2 separate regions of the Homo sapiens genome follow, and region 1 is linked to region 2. The links are contacts of gene promoters, found by promoter capture Hi-C in blood cells and fetal thymus (Javierre and others, 2016). All regions are on one chromosome and are shown on one strand. Each heading gives the region's core, a stretch centred on a gene start or on the middle of the fragment in contact. The rest is flanking DNA. Distances are from core to core; before and after follow the strand shown.

Region 1 (5,600 bases), core at 34-2,533, 910 kb after region 2:
AATATTTCTGATCCTGTTGACCAAGTAGTACCCAATTTTGGCAAGAAAGTTTAAGGTTATATAACTGAGTGCAACTTCAGGTTCTCTGACTCTTGAGTTTTTTAATTCTTAAGACTCCTTTTCTGACTTTTATGTCTTATGACTCACACTACATTCATACCACATTTGGTTTCCTCTCATCATCTTAACTTCTGCATGAATAAAGTCTGAAGTAACCACCTTTTGGAAGAAACACTGTGGCTATGTGTCAAGGGTGGCAGTGTTAGCTGGGAGAAGGCCTTTCCCAGAAGATCTCTGTGTAAGAGCCTGGCCTTCCACAGTCATTTGAATGTCCATCATAAGACTTTTCTACCTGTCTTCTCAGTAGATCCTAAATATGAGACAGCAGAGGAGGGAGACAGGCAATATGAGGTAGAAGTAAATAATCAGCATCAGATAGACCTGGTGTGAACTCCAGCTTTGCCATTACTCCCTGGTTTCTTCATCTGTAAAATGCTGATGAAAGTATCTATCACACACCTATGACAAGTACTGGGTGAGAGTGCACATAACCTGCTTCACATGTGCTTTAGGGCTGTGTAAATCAGTCCCTCCCACGCTTATTCAGTGGTGCCCTCTCTGAACTCGCCTAAACTGCCAGACTATGAGGCCTGCGACTATGTACATGTGTTCAAAAGTTAGTCCTTGGTTATCACTGCAGTCTGTGGTATAGGAATGTCTGCCTCCCACATGCGCAGACAAGTGGGGCACTACCATTTGGCTACTTGACAGGGCTATTTAGCAGGTGCACATGTCTGAACATTCCTGAATCAGGAGGGGGTAGCTCTGGATTTCAGAGAGCTGTAAGCAGGCCACAGCTGGAGTGACGCAAGAGCCAGGGGCATCAACTTGAGCTCTGAATTTGTAGTATGAAATGAAAGGAACCCAAGTCCGTGTGTATGTGTGTGGAAAACACTGCAGGTCGAGGTACTTTTCCAGGTACTTCGCCCTTTGTGGGGTTGCAGCCCCGACGCCCTGGAATCTGGACTGGACCCAGAAAGGAAGCCGGTTTGGTTCATGCTGAGGACACAGGGGGCACCTTGCCTTTCTGGCTAGGTGGCAAAGCGGTACGTGGGCCATCCCAGCAGGCACTAGCGCTCCCCCTGCACCCTCTGGCCGCCCGGGCGCGGGGACCTGGCCCCCGCCTCCTCCACAGTCTCCGACTTGCGAGCCGCACGGCCCAGGTGAAGCCGCTGGGCGCGTCCCCGCGCGCCCCTTCCCCCTCCCGGCGACTTCCTGATTTGCAAGAAGGTGCAGGAGCCGCAGCGGGCGGCCCCGGTCGCAGGAACTGAGAGGCCTCAGCTTTGGTGGCGGCTACCGGCGGAGACGGGGGCGGCGGCCACGCCACCGCTGCTGTCACAGAAAGGCTCTGGTGGGTGGGGTGGGAGGCGGGGAAGTGCCGGGGGCGCAGCCGACATGGGCCCGCCGCCACGGCTGCTGTGAGCAGCCTCTTTCCCTGTGTGGCCGCCGGCGTGGGCGGGGACGGCGCGACCCTCGCGCGGCCGGGCTGCGGGCTTCCAGGCCAGCGCGCGGGGGCCGGACGGACAGCCCCACACCGACATGTAACCATGGACTGCAGGACCAAGTGAGTGGGGGGGCCCGGGCGCGTCGGGGGCGGGCGTCCCTCGGCGGCCCCTCCCAGGCCAGCTCGGCTCCTCCGCGCCTCCGCGCTCAACCGGCTCCCCGGGCGGCCGAGGTTGGCCGGGCGGGCTGGGGGTGCGGTCCGGCCCCCAAGCCTCTGGCCGGCCGGCGGGACGGCGCTAGGCCGCAAAGCCTGCCCGCCCTGCGTCCCCGGCCCTCCGTGGTTGGCGCGGCTCCTCCCGGAGAGGCCACTAGCGCCTTGTCGACGCCCGCCTTTCGGGGGACAGGGGAGGCCGGGCGGCCCCTGACACCGCCGCTGAGGGGTTCTCGTGCTTCCCCCGAGTGTGTCAGATGTGACTCTCCTGGGGCTGCCTGTGTGCGTGTGGTGTCCGGGAGGGAGTCAGCGTTGAGGTTAAGAGGTTATTATTCCGAGTGCTCTCTGAGCATTAAATATAACCGGTGTTTTCTTAAGTCCGTTTGTTACTTTTGTCTTGGATGTTTTCTTATGATTCTGCTTATAAAATTAGATTGGTCTCTGGTGTTTCTTTATGCAGCAACTGTAGATGCATGGTTCTTGCAAAACGGTATCCAATTAGAGGGTACTTTTATGTGTGTGCTAAAGTATTTATCAACGACTACTTTGCTCAGGAGATTAGGTAAAAAGCAATTTTAATAACGGTGGTGATTTTGTTTCTAGGTATCTTAGAGGCATGAGTTTTATATTTTTCTTCTGAAACTTAACTTTGGAAAGAATTCCTTTTTACTTCGCTTACCCACCCTTTACTATCTCCTTCTCAAAAAGTTTAAAATAATGCCATGTATATTTGTATTATTGTGAAAGGCCGTTTGAATTTCACAGAAGTAAAACTGAGTCAATATTTAACTTTTACACCTAAGAGAAATTCTAAAGAATATTAGGGAAAGAGGGAAATTATGTAATAGAATTATTTTCTTCAGTGTGTTTGACATCATGGTGGGCAGGGTAAGTGAGTAAAAATAGTATGCTTCTTGACATTAATTGTTTTAAGAGGGAGGAAGTCATCTGAGCCCAGATTATTCCCATTGAAACAAGTTAATAGCGGAAAGGCTAAAAAAATGTATATTTGCATGTTAATTTATATGTCTTGTCACTTCCTATGTTTCCAGATTCATATCTTATAAGAAAAGCTTCCAAAAAAAGAAATGCTTTTTTTTAAAGTCAGAGCTGGCATTCGTTTCTTGAAGGAAGTACATATTAAATACAGCCAATGTACAAAGGCACTAAGGTCTTGTTAGCAGGAATAACTGAGATATTAACACATTGGCCGTTGTGGTAACAGACTTAATCTTTTACCTTATGATGGAACGAGAGATTTAAACAGCAATGTTATGAAGAAAAAGTGTCTCAGTATATTTCAGTTCACTTTTTGAAATTTAACCAATGTTGCTTTGAAATTTTGCAAATATGGCAAGTTAGTAAAAAAGTCAATAACTTCTGAATTAAGCAAAGTAAACTTACAGTTTCTAGTGGGAAAATCTAACATGGAAGCAGATGGCTGGTTTCTCCAAAGATAATGGATAAAAAGAAGGCTTTTTATGTTGCTAGCCTTAGAGCTATGAATAGTTTGCTACTTTAAATATGCATAAGTACAGTAAATACATTTTAAGAAAAGTATATGCAACGTATCACATTCATGGAGCATTATCAATGTTTTATGGTGATCTAGAACTTGGCAGGTGGAACCATGTATTCATCATTTACACTTATATTGCAAGTCCTTTGGAGACAGCCTGAGAACCTGTGTCAAACTCTGTTGGCAGGGTATAATGACACTTAGGGACACTCTGGCTTTTAAATTTGATCCAATAAGATAAAACCAATACTTTGCATTTTTGTAGCACTTAGTACTTAATGAAGTACTTGCACATATGTTATTTGATTTATAATCCTCACTATTATTCTGTGAAGTGGACAAGGCACCTCATAGGTAAGGGAGAACAGTCTCAGCGTTTAAATGCTTTGCCCCAAGTTTCAGAATTCCTAAGTCTCAGCTCTTTTAAGTTGCTCAATTGAGAAAACAGTTTCATTGTTATTTCTACTATACTGTAGTAATACAGTCACGTGAAATGTATTGAGACAAAAACAAGATTAGTTTTAGAATTAAGAAAATACAAGTTTCATGGAGATGTTTATTTGTCATAGGAAATTAATTTAAACTTTTTCCTTTTAGGGCAAATCCAGACAGAACCTTTGACTTGGTGTTGAAAGTGAAATGTCATGCCTCTGAAAATGAAGGTATGTGTCTTCTGTGTTCTGTTATTTGACAAGGTCTCTTTTTTTTGGGACAAGATCTCATTCTGTTCCTCAGGCTGTGCAGTGGCATGATCAGGGCTCACCACAACCTCTCCTTCCCGGGTTCAGGTGATCCTCCCACCTCAGCCTCCCGAGTAGCTGGAGCTACCAATGCACACCACCATGCTCAGCTAATTTTTGTATATTTTTTTGTGGAGACAGGGTTCACCACGTTGCCCAGGCTGGTCTTGAACTCCTGGGCTCAAGTGATCCACCCACCTTGCCCTCCCAAATTGTTGGGATTACAGGCGTGAGCCACTGTGCCTGGCCTGTTCTGTTAATTCTTAAAATAATTGATTGAATCTGTCAAAGCAAGTGTTAATATTGTGGACTGCTGGAACATGGTAGTAATAGGAAAATAATACTACTAAATGTGTATTCTGCATTGAGTGTCTCAAGTTGCTGGTAATAAAATAGGTGTTAAGTCTTTGCCCTGGGATTGTAAAAATCATGAATGTTATCAGTGCAGCTTGAATTTCAGGTGTGTTGTTAAGCCCATATAACTTACAACTCAGCTTCACCATTCGTTGGTAAAGTTATCATTAGTTTTGGTGAAAGGGCGAATCTTTTCATTTTCTTTCATTTATGTTTGGAAATTTAGTGTCTTTTTTTAAACATTAGTGCACATTCTCCTGCTAGTACCAATGGAAACTACACCACTTCCCTTCTGATGTTTCCAGAACGCAGAATGCAGACTGAGTAGCCCCTTCTGTTGGATTTACTCCAATAGCACAGCACTTTTGCAGGGAGGTAAACGATAGTGTGAAATTACTTGGAAGGGTTTCAGCTGTCAGTTCCGTACAATTTCCTGAAAAGATGAGAGCATAATACTTTAATGTCATGATTTTCATCATTTCCCTCCACTTTTGTCATATTGTGTATTGTGCATATGTGTGGTAGGCGGCAGGGTTAGCAGACAAGAATAAGGAATTCTTTTCTTGCCTATTTTCTTTTAATGTGTTCTTGCATGGTATGTCTTTCTAGATACTTAAAGTATATGTCTTTACTTGCTGTGTGCTTAGACCCTGGATAGCATGATGATTAAGCATAGGGGTTTCGTGGAGACTGATTGGCCATCCTAAAGCCTTGGAGGAAAGTCTGCTGACAATTTTAGCTTCAGAAACTATCCAGCAATTACCTACTCTTAAGTAATTTGGAGCTGCACACCTTAAAATAGAGAAGCCCAACCCAGTTGTGGTGAAATGGGCATGGCTAATTTTAGTATGAAGTCACATATTGTTGGCTCCACCAGCCCTACTACTGTACTCCTGGTCTATCTGAACTGCAGCTGTGGTCAGGTTTGTCTATTGGCAAGGAGTGATCCTAGGTTGTAGGGAGCCTTTTCTAGTTGATGAAGTTATCTTTTATTGTCCTGTATGTAGTAAAGTTTGTCCATTTGCATTATTTTGAGCCCCAACCGGGTCCTCTTTGAAGAATGGATATATTAGGTAGAATGGATACTCAAATGGATACATTATGTTTTCAGCTCCAATTTAATTCTATTCTATAGTGGTTTATGATATAAGTTAATCTAAAAAATATCTACCACAACATTACCGAAGGTGCGTGAAGTAACGCTCATCTGATATTGCTTGTAAAGGCGTGGCACGGTGGCTCACGCCTATAATCCCAGCACTTTTGGAGGCCG
Region 2 (4,960 bases), core at 2,434-4,933:
ATGTTTTCTTTCTTAAGCACCACAAAAACCCTAAGAAGCTTAGAAAAGTCAAGTGTCTTGGCCAAGTTCACAAGGCCAGTCTAGTATATGTGAGCCAGACTTGAACCTGAGCCTGTCTGACTTTACAGGCCATGCTCTCATTCATCAGGCGTCCCCTTTTCCCATCAACTTGTCCTTACAGCCTTTCCTCTTCATATGAAATTTTAAGCATGAGAATTCTTTTACAGAAGGTGTTTATTAAAAACTCATGAGCTAAGTAAAAATGCATCTTAATCATAATTTGGCTGCAAGTAAATTACTAGTAGTGCTACAAATGCTAAAATAACCTTGACCCTAAAAATAGATATGCAGATTAAATCACAATGTGCTGAGTGAATGCTCTATAATGGTACAAACAAATATTAGAGAAAATTTAGAGGTGTGTCAAGTTAATTTATTACAGAATACTATTTTGACAGGAAAGTCAACCAAACTACACTAATATCAAGCACAATTATTAAAATTTACAGACCTTTTGTTTAGATGTTAAGAGGTTTCTGGAGCTAGAGGACAGAATAATGGGCATACATATACATTTTTTTCTGATCTCATCATCGCTCCATATTCAAAATTTCCTCGAATCTTTTCATCTTTAATGCAGCAAAATTTAATATCCTGGAAAACAGTATAATATCTAAAGAGCCAACATTTTCCTTTCTTCTATGTTCATGCTTACTTCCCATAAAGGCCTCTTGAATTGAATATGTGTTTGCTTGTACACTGATTTATCACTGGATATGATTCTAAATTCCTCCACTGAGTGATTTTTAGGTGACACTAAAACATTGTAATCTATGTTTTATTTCATTTTTATATACTATTTCAAATATGTGCGTGCACACACACACAGACACACACACACACACACACCCCACACACCATTTTATCTTTTTAAAAGAAAATTCCAAGACTTCAGCATCACTGTTTAGACTTAGTGTAAGACTCAACTTGCTTGTTCTCATGGTCATAAAATCCCTATAAACAGATTTTTAGTTTTGGTAACACTTTTAGTCAACATGATAAATGACATAAAAATGTTTTCGTGCCTGAAAAAAACACATAGAATCTATTTAAAATAAAAATTTTAAATTAAAAACTACTTTAAAATTTAAGCCAATGCCCCTAAGGAAATAAGGTATGCACTAGAGTGATGCAACTTAAAGCAACATATCAATTTTAATAAGCCATGTGCACTAGATTACATAAATCTATTTTTCAGTCTTTTTAATGTTAAACATTTTACCAGTCTTAAAGTAGGAACACGCTAAATGTGACCTATATAAAATAGCTTAGTTAAAACACCTACGTAACATCTAAAGGACATTCCCCACACCCCGCCCCCCCAGTCATCTAATGATTTTTACATCAACGTTAGCAGAACACTAACAAATACTTTGGTGGAGAATGCCTTTATATATGAAACAAGGTAGGGAGTAGGTGAAGGTACTTAACTATTTAGAGAAAACTATAAAACCAAATATCTGCAATAATTTATTAATTCTCTATCATATTTTAATTCTTCCTAAATTACATGAGCAATGACTTCAATTGTCTGTTGCACTTCATATGTGCAAACATTATTAAACATTACCAAAATCATAGATAGAAGCCACTGTGCTGAATCTTCACTGATAGAAAAAAAAGACCTGATGAGATTGGTTGTGGCCAGGTGCAATGGTTCACACCTGTAATCCCAGAACTTTGGGAGGGAGAGGCAGCTGGATCGCTTGAACCAAGCAATCCAGTCTGGGAAACATGCAAAACCTCGTCTCTACTTAAAATACAAAAATTATCCGGGTAGGGTGGTGCACACCTATAGTCCCAGCTACTTGGGAGGCTACGCCCATGAGTGTGTGTTGAGGCTGTAGTGAGATGTGATGGTGCCACTGTACTCCAGCCTGGGTGACAGGGTGAGACCCTGACTCAAAAACAACAACAACAACAACAACAACAAAAGATTGGTTGTATAACATATTTAACTACTTCATGACCTATCCATTTAGACTGGAGTATATGGTTAAATATTACTGTGCTTGTCCAATGCAAAACAAATGAACTGATGTAGTTACCTAAGTTGTTTTATGTATGTAGACAGCCTTGTACTCTACCCTATTTCCTGTATTACTTAAAAGCAACAATATATTCTTAGTGGAGTCAAATAGATCTGGGAAAAGCAAACAAAATTTTTGCATAAAGTATTTTATAACCAGTGCACAATAAATATTTAATATTTGGAGATTGTTTAATACAAATTACACTACAATATATGTAAACATTCTTTATGAACAATACTGGGAAAGTGTGGAAAATAGGTAAAGCAAAATATGTGACATAGCAATGGAAATTAAGAGGGCACATGTGTAGGTGTGTGACAATAAAGAGAAGGCATCACTATTTCTCAAAGTAAGAACTGCATTGAGCTTTCTCTCAAATTCTATAAACACATCAAATAAATATAAAATAAAACACAGTAATATATCTAGTGTTCCACATATTACAGTTACTACATTCTACACTTTGACTTTTATCTTCTAGGGATGAAATTTTCTACATTTTTTAAAACTTAAATGTCTTGTGTTTTCATTATTTAGTCAAAGGAGTATTTAGTAATATTTCAGTAGGTGGCACCATAGCACTAAAAAACTGTAAATTATCTAAGAGCTCTTTTTCCCATTATAATCCTGTTGTGAATCACCAATGGAATTGACTAGATACATTAAACAGATGAAAATGTAGATAACAGAACACTTGATCTTCAAAGCTGTGTTATTCTAACACATGTATTGTTACTGAATTTACCTTTCCCAATATGTTTCTTTTACAACTCAAAATGTTTAAATGATCACAAATCAAAGTTACCTTGAAGTCACACCCCTAAGTCCCTGATCAGAGATTTCAGCAAAAACTAGGAATCAATTTGAGTGAAAACGGCATTTCAAAAGACATACTTGGGCTTTAAATATCACCCGTTCTCCCTCCCCGCTAAAAAAAAAAGAAAAAAAAATGGGATGCTATTTCCTAGGGAATTTAAACCTGTCTAGTTCTGCAAATCTGGGAAAAGTACAAGGGCAGAAGGGTAAAATAGAATAGATTAAATAAATACTTATTCTCAGCATCTGCCCTAAAATGAATGATAGCATGTTTTGAAGGTTGAGAATGCATACTTGACCTCCATAAACATAAAGCCTGTACAAAAGTGGAAAAAAGCAAATCAAGACAAAAAATAAGGGTCAGCTAAAACAGATATGTATGGCTTTCCTTTCTTAGCAATGCATGATAATAATAAAGTGCACAATAAAAATAAGAGAATTGCACTTTTTTTATGCTAGAAATCTGCTATATGGTCCACAGACAATAAATCTAACAAATCATATTAAATTATTAAGTATTTATGGAGTAAGCACTCTGGGCAGCGACAAGCCAGGTATTATGATTTCAGAGAACCACAGGAAACAGTCTTTTCTACCCTCCATTAGCTTATCAGTAAATATAATAATGATGGCAACAGTTTACTGAAATGTTATGTAGCAGACACTATGCACACCTCTTTATATAATATATATGTATTTTTTTTCTTTTAAGCATCCCAGTAAGCCAATGAGTTAGCATTATTTATCCTTTTTTATAGGGAATGAAACTGGGACCTAAAAGAGTTTAGTAAATTGCTCACAGGCACACACGAGGAAAGTGCTAGATTTGAAATAGTGTCTATTTAATAATTTTCTTATTCTTTATGTAGACGTTATGTTAAAATATTGGGTATATTAATATTATTTTTGGAATCTCATGAGTAAAGGACTTTCTGCTTATCATCAGAAAATAATTCCAAAGATTTCTACTCAGACAGAAGCAAAGGATTTTAGTGATTATTGACATGCAGTTCATTTGATATATAAGGAAACTAAGACTCAGTGAGTGTAGTGCCTTTCTGATTTCATTCAATCTAGTTAAAGCACATGAATTTATGAGCTCCACCAATGTCCAAAGAATTTCAACATCCCTTTATTGAGGCCTTTTATTAAATACAAATGGACATCCAAGAAACACTAGAACAAAGCCTCTAATAAGAAAGAAAGATAGAGCTCAAATAAACAAAAGAGGCACTTGGGAGAATGAGGCAATGCAAGGAGCAAAAGAGAGGATAACCAACTACAATTCATATTTTCAGAAATGAGAAAACATTGCACCCATGAACAAAGAGCAAGAGGTTATAAAAAGCAACATCTCAAGATCAAGAGAAGAAGTCAATAGATACTGGCAAAAATCTTTTTTTTTGTTTTAAAGAAACAGCACTACAATAAAAGATAACATTTAAAAATCACAAAATATCAAGGGAGGGGAGAGTCGTGGGAGCAAAAGACTGTTCTTACTTACTCTAGGCCTTATGGTACTATTTAAACTTTCAAATTATATACACACTTTTAAATAATAATGCAAATAATAAAGAAAAATATCAGTATGTAAAGCAGTATTGAGGATAAAGAAGGCAAATTTTTGTGGCCATGAGAGGAATAAAATCAAATAATTAAAAAATTTTAAAGATAGCAACCATATCTAGCTGTCTCCCAATGACTTATGGTGTCCAATATTTACAATAATGTTTTTTGCTTGTGAATACATATGACTTTGCAAACACACACCTCAAAACTAGGAATGCATTTGTAGGTATTTTATATTTGGTTTAAAACATCATGTTATATATTTCAGGCATGTTGATTAACGAAACAATTAATGACAAAAAAATTAATAAAGGCTACTAGATAACCATTTAAGAACAATCAGTTACACTGCTTTTTTTCTGTCTTAAACTATTTATCTACAAGTCAGGGGGAAAATTTTATCGCTTCCTGTGCAATGATGGTCAAATTGAAGTCTTTGATTTAGATTTGTGTGCCTTTAAATGTCCCATAGTCAAATTTGT

The links. Contacts are between HindIII fragments. The CHiCAGO score rates a contact against its expected background, and 5 or more counts as called.
Region 1: the fragment with the promoter of DENND1B here is called in contact with a fragment that was not itself captured in region 2 in 2 of 17 cell types (M2 macrophages and fetal thymus); the score reaches 7.1 in M2 macrophages.

What each region holds. Positions count from the first base shown.
Region 1 is chr1:197,771,163-197,776,762 of GRCh38, reverse strand. DENND1B (DENN domain containing 1B) reads left to right here and starts at 1,283. Exons shown (of 23, transcript NM_001195215.2): 1 at 1,283-1,624; 2 at 3,831-3,895. The coding sequence starts at 1,608. RefSeq lists an enhancer at 66-115 and silencers at 490-784, 1,076-1,275, 1,426-1,935. The HindIII fragment of the contact is 6,146 bases long and covers 1-2,789 here.
Region 2 is chr1:198,684,028-198,688,987 of GRCh38, reverse strand. The region is part of intron 2 of PTPRC (protein tyrosine phosphatase receptor type C); the gene reads right to left. Among named protein-coding and RNA genes, the nearest start is that of PTPRC-AS1, 19 kb to the right of the region's middle. The HindIII fragment of the contact is 7,286 bases long and covers 41-4,960 here.